Linked DNA regions of Homo sapiens: region 1 is linked to region 2. Evidence: promoter capture Hi-C in 16 types of primary human blood cells and fetal thymus (Javierre and others, 2016). All regions are on one chromosome and are shown on one strand. The core of a region is centred on a gene start or on the middle of the fragment in contact, and the rest is flanking DNA. Distances in the headings are between cores, read along the strand shown.

Region 1 (2,700 bases), core at 28-2,527, 320 kb after region 2:
GCACTCCAGCCTGGGCGACAGAGTGAGACTCTGTCTCAAAAACAAAACAACAACAACAACAACAAAAACCACATTTATGCTTAAGAAATTCCTACCATTGAGTTCTTGGCTAAGTCACCTACTTGGAATGGTATGCAGGAAATTTTTCTTCAAATAATGGGGGAAATGGTAAAAAAAAAAAAAAATTGAGTATTTTTTTTTGAGATGGAGTTTTGCTCTTGTTGCCCAGGCTGGAGTGCAATGGTGCGATCTTGGCTCACTGCAACCTCCGCCTCCCATGTTCAAGCAATTCTCCCGCCTCAGCCTCCTGAGTAGCTAGGATTACAAGCATGCGCCACCATGCCTGGCAAATTTTTTAGTATTTTTAGTAGAGATGGGGTTTCTCCATGTTGGTCAGACTGGTCTTGAACTCCTGACCTCAGGTGATCCACCAACCTCGGCCTCCCAAAGTGCTGGGTGTACAGGCGTGAGCCACTGTGCCCAGCCAAACTTGAGTATCTCAGAGCTTAAAGCTATGCTGTTTTACCATTTCTACATAAAATAGCACTTGACTTGGCAAATTTTCTTAGCTCCCTGTTTCCCCAGAGCCCCAAGCTTACATGTCAGATGCCCACCAAGGCTTCACAGCTCATTACTTCCCTTCCTCCCTGTTTCCTTAGTGAAATCTCAGGAGGATGCTTACCAGGAATCAGGAAACTGGAAAAACAATGGCCTGCTGGGACAGATCTCCAAGCCCTAGAGGACCACAGGTGAATGTCACCTGTAAGTCTCCGCTCATTCTAGCCAATGTAATTCTACAAAAGGCCACATCTAAACTACTGAAATGCATGCAAGTAATTTTCAAAGGCCTACAGACTCTGCTATGCTTCAGTAGCTGTCCTATCAAAATTAACCCTGAAGGGTGTCACTTCTGATTCTGTTTCTCATCATTTCTGTTCATCTGCCCACTGGCTTTGTACCAAGATATCCTACATCAAACATTTAAAACATTTAAAGTAGAGAAGATAAGACCCCTGTGGCCAGAACCCTCTTCTTTCTCCAGCTCAATCAGTTGGCCGGCTCCCTACACAGACCATACTGTTTCTCATCTGTGTCTCTGCTCACTCCAGGGCTGCTACCCACAACTACACCACTCTTCCCTAACTACTTCACCTGGTAAGCTCTTTATCTTTTGAGACTCAAGTCACGTATTCTTTCCAGGAAGCTTTCTCTGAAAGTCTCTGGTTCCACAGAGCACTTCTGCACCACACTGTATTCAAACCATTACATGTCTGAATCCCCTTCTCCATGCCTCATTTGCCTTTGTACCTCCACACCCTGTACAATGCCTGGCATGTAGTAAGTACTCAATAAAGCTTTAAAGAACTGGGGAACACTAAGGAATGGGCTTCTAGGAAGTGAGTGTAATCCTTCAAAGCTATGAGGGGAGGTAATGCAATGGGGCAGGCAACTGTTTTGTGGGTTAAATCACACATGAAATTACTTATGTTTTCTAAGTTACTACACAATGAGACAGAAGAGGAGTCCAAGTCCATACTGGCAAGCCTGTACTTACTGAACCATCCCACCTCTACTCATTTTAATCTTCTTTAAACAATTTGATTTTCAATATCGTTTATCTTAACACAAGGTAAAATGCTTAAACTTGTATTAAGAGGCTCTCAGAAGTAGCATCTTGCTAGTTTCTAAAGGATCACTTTTAGAGTTACCAAGTTTAAGAACACACTTCTGGCCGGGTGCAGTAGCTCATGCCTGTAATACCAGCACTTTGTGAGGCCGAGGTGGGTGGATTGCTTGAGCCCAGGAGTTCAAGACCAGCCTGGGCGACATGGTGAAACCCCACCTCTACTAAAAATACAAAAAATTAGCCAGGTGAGGCGGCATGAGCCTATAGCCCCAGCTACTTGTGGGGCTGAGGTGAGAGGATCACTTGAGCCTGGGAGGTAGAGCCGTGATCGTGCCACTGCACTCCAGTTTGGGCAACAGAGTGAGACCCTGTCTCAAAAATAACAACAACAAAAAACAAACAAACAAAACCACACATTCCTCAGAACTCTAGATAATGACCACAGGCTCCCTTTGTTAAGCCTGCCCTAAAGTATGGATAGGGGCTATGAATTTAGGGAGTAGTCCAGGGAAACCCAAGCATTGTCTCCCAGATGAAGACAAAACATTTAAAAGACTGAGGCCATCATTCCTTTTTTTTTTTTTTTTTGAGACGGAGTCTTGCTCAGTTGCCCAGGCTGGAGTGCAGTGGCGCGATCTTGGCTCACTGCAACCTCTGCCTCCAGGGTTCAAGCGATTCCCTTGCCTCAGCCTCCCGAGTAGCTGGGATTACAGGTTGCCCGCCATCACACCCGGCTAATTTTTATATTTTTAGTAGAGATGGGGTTTCACCATGTTGGCCAGGCTGGTCTTGACCTCCTAACCTCAAGTGATCCACCCACCTCAGCCTCCCAAAGTACTGGGATTACAGGCGTGAGCCACTGCACCTGGCTGAGGCCATCACTTCTTAAGATCTGCTTTTTTTTTGTTTGTTTTGAGATGTAGTCTCACCGTATCACCCAAGCTGGAGTTCAGTGGCGTGATCTCGGCTCACTGCAACCTCTGCCTCCTGGGTTCAAGTGATTCTCCTGCCTCAGCCTCCCGAGTAGCTGGGATTACAGGTGCCTGCCCCCATGTCCAGCTAATTTTTGTTTT
Region 2 (2,855 bases), core at 24-2,523:
AAAACTGTGTTGAGAGCTGATACTTTTCCCAGGATCTACTTTAGTGTTAAACTAGGCTGAAGCAGATGGATGAGGCAGAACCAGGAAAAGAAGGTGGGCAAGAAAGGTACTTTCCCTACCTGTGGCCTAGCTCTTCCCACAATCCTTTCCAGGACTCTGTGCATACCTGGATGCTAACCTCCTCTTTGCACTGCCTCACGGTATCCCTCTGTAGGACCTTTACCTTGGGCACCACCTATAAAAGGAGAGTAGTGATGACTCATAGATAGTGCTATTGAATTGTTTATTCCTCCCAACCTCTCTGGAATCAAGATTGGAAACAGAGACTAATGTGGTATCTACGCCCCTACCTTCACTGCAAATACAGCTTTCTGGGTGCAATCTAGCACCTTGAGGACAGTTCCAAAGGAGCCTTTAGCCACGAGGCCTAAAATCTGTACAGAGGAATGGAGAACAGGCCAGTTGAGACTGGTCATTTTTAACTTCTCCCAAAGACTGAGACCCCACTCAGGGATTCCACTGACTTACCTTCAGCTGCTGCTGCCCCCTAATGGGCCTAATGGGAAACTCTGGTAGAAAGAGGTTGATGAACTGAGGCACTGGCCACTCTGGCAGAGGCTTCTCTACCAGTACTGGGGCTGGCTTTAGGGATTCCTGGTGCAGATAGTGGTGCCCCCGTAGTTCCCAGAGTTCTTCCAGATCTGACCTGATGGTTCCCAAACCTGTCCAGAGGCTCTTCCAGCCTCGGGCCCAGGGACCCCGGATGTTGCCACCCTGCTGAGAACCAAGGGAGCCACTCTAAACTTTCTGCTCCTGAGGCATAGCAGGTTCCACCCATCTTACTAGGCACTCCCTCCCCTTAAGTCTCAACCCCTAGAGGTACATTTTTGAGCATGAGGCAAAATTCCCATTACCCTTGCTTTGTGCTAAGCCCCAGATTTCCTGGGCACAATTCAAATCCTCTAGGAAAATAATTGTTGGACATTTTCACCATGACGCATTAAGAGTACAGCCTGCACCTCAGTATTGGGCTGTGATGCTTTCATAGTACAGCCTCCCTGCCCCACCCCCACATTGGGTAATCACTTCCATGCTCCTAACCAGGAACTTCCCAGGACTCAAGCCCATGTCTCCCTCTCCTCCCCTCAGTAGGCTGCCAGAGCCCCACAGCCTACCTTGTGAGGGACAGCCACCCGGGTGTGTTCCCCCTGCTGGGTGTGCTGCCCCTGCCGACAGCTTACTGCTCCCATTCCCAGCCTCTGCCTCCTCTCTCTGCTAAATCTGCTGTCCCAGTTATATAAGCAATTCCTCTCCCTGATGCTGCGTGACACGAGCCCCGCCTCTTCCAGTCTGCAGAAACCCATCAGCATGGGGCCAGAGTCACACTAGGACTAGAAATTTCTGTGATACAGCTTCAGGGCAGAGGAAGGAAGGGGCCACCCTCAGAGTGGCAGCTGCAGGATGTTCTGGGTTGATGAGGGAGGAATACACAGATTGAATGCATGCACTCAACACACACACACAAAAATGAGCATCAAATTTAAAATATCTTTTTTTTTCTCTTTAAATCATTTTGCCATTCTCCAGGGTATATCCTACGGGGAAGGGTAGGGGACCCATGGCCAGCCCTGGCTCCTACTGCCATCCTCCCAAGTGAACTTAGCACAGAGACTGGGGAGGGGTTGACCCCCACTCCAGAACACCAATACCTCTTTCAAACATGACAGTGGAGTGAGGATCAGAGGATCAGCCCCCTCCCGTTTCCTGGCACAGAGGAAGGACAGTTACACTTAGAAATATATATATAATATATATATATTTATATATGTCTATAAAAATTTATCACACTTGATCAGGACTATCCCCCTACCCTTTCACTTGACCCCAAGGGAATAGGGTCCTGCCCTGGGCCCATTCCCTGGGTCTTGCTCTCTTGTTGCCTCTCTGGCCCTGAGCCTGATCAGTGTGAGACAGAACTCAGCATTACTGTCCACCATGCCCTGCAGCGAACAGACCAGGTGCTGAAGAGTGATGCCTATGGGCTCTGACACCCACAAATCCTCGTGGATAACGGGAAGCCCCTCCCACCCCACAAGTCCCTGGAGCCTGAGCCAGAGTCAGATCCTGTACTGCAGCCACTCGAATCGCCAAATCATTTGCGCCTGCCAAAGATGGACTTCTTGCCAGGGTTCTTGTCGCCCACACTTAAACCAATGAGGAGCCGGGCTTTCTCCTCCTCTTCCTGCTGTTGCATGTTCAGGTCCGATTTAGTTTCTAGCTTTCCCCGGACCTCAGAGCCTGTTGCAGACTTCAGCCTTAGCTTCTCTTTGATTACCTGGCAGATTGGAGAGGAGTAAAAGAAAATGTAAATATTAGTGGGCAGGCAGAATAAATCAAAATGAACCAAGACAATAAAGATTTATTAAACACATCCAAGGCACAATGGGGCAATTCACATACAATGGTCTCTGCTTTCAAGAAGCTTACAGTCTAATTATAACCCCTTCTAAACTTTAGGTTGTGTTAGCTCTCAGTTCCCTAAAATCAATGGTGCTATACGAAACACTCAGTAAACACTGAATTTAATAATCTGAGTGAGGTCATGGAGAGGGTAGGCATAGAAGCCACTCACTTCATGCACCTGCCCCTTCCCAAGGATATTTATTCATGGATTCTAAAATGAAAGGCTCCTGAAAAGAGGATCTGCCTGCCAGCCCCATTAGCCAAACAGCCATGAGCCCTGGCGGGATACCTGGGCAACCAGGGCTTTGCGGCTGTCCCTTTTGACAGCCATGGCAAAGTCTAGCCATGTCCATGTGTTGTTGTGGTACTCCAGACAGGGCAGCACCAGGTTA

Evidence for each region. Contacts are between HindIII fragments. The CHiCAGO score rates a contact against its expected background, and 5 or more counts as called.
Region 1: a fragment that was not itself captured here is called in contact with the fragment with the promoter of RSKR in region 2 in 2 of 17 cell types (total B cells and activated CD4 T cells); the score reaches 5.6 in total B cells.

Annotation. Positions count from the first base shown.
Region 1 is chr17:28,929,059-28,931,758 of GRCh38, forward strand. All of the region lies in intron 2 of PHF12 (PHD finger protein 12), which reads right to left. All of the region lies in intron 1 of LOC101927018 (a long non-coding RNA gene), which reads left to right. Among named protein-coding and RNA genes, the nearest start is that of PHF12, 21 kb to the right of the region's middle. The HindIII fragment of the contact is 151 bases long and covers 1,203-1,353 here.
Region 2 is chr17:28,612,912-28,615,766 of GRCh38, forward strand. RSKR (ribosomal protein S6 kinase related) reads right to left here and starts at 1,274. Exons shown (of 12, transcript NM_001174103.2): 1 at 1,176-1,274; 2 at 529-777; 3 at 351-434; 4 at 167-235. The coding sequence starts at 1,250. BLTP2 (bridge-like lipid transfer protein family member 2) reads right to left here. Exons shown (of 39, transcript NM_014680.5): 38 at 2,753-2,855; 39 at 1,535-2,335. The coding sequence ends at 2,153. All of the region lies in intron 2 of SPAG5-AS1 (SPAG5 antisense RNA 1), which reads left to right. The HindIII fragment of the contact is 13,614 bases long and covers 1-2,480 here.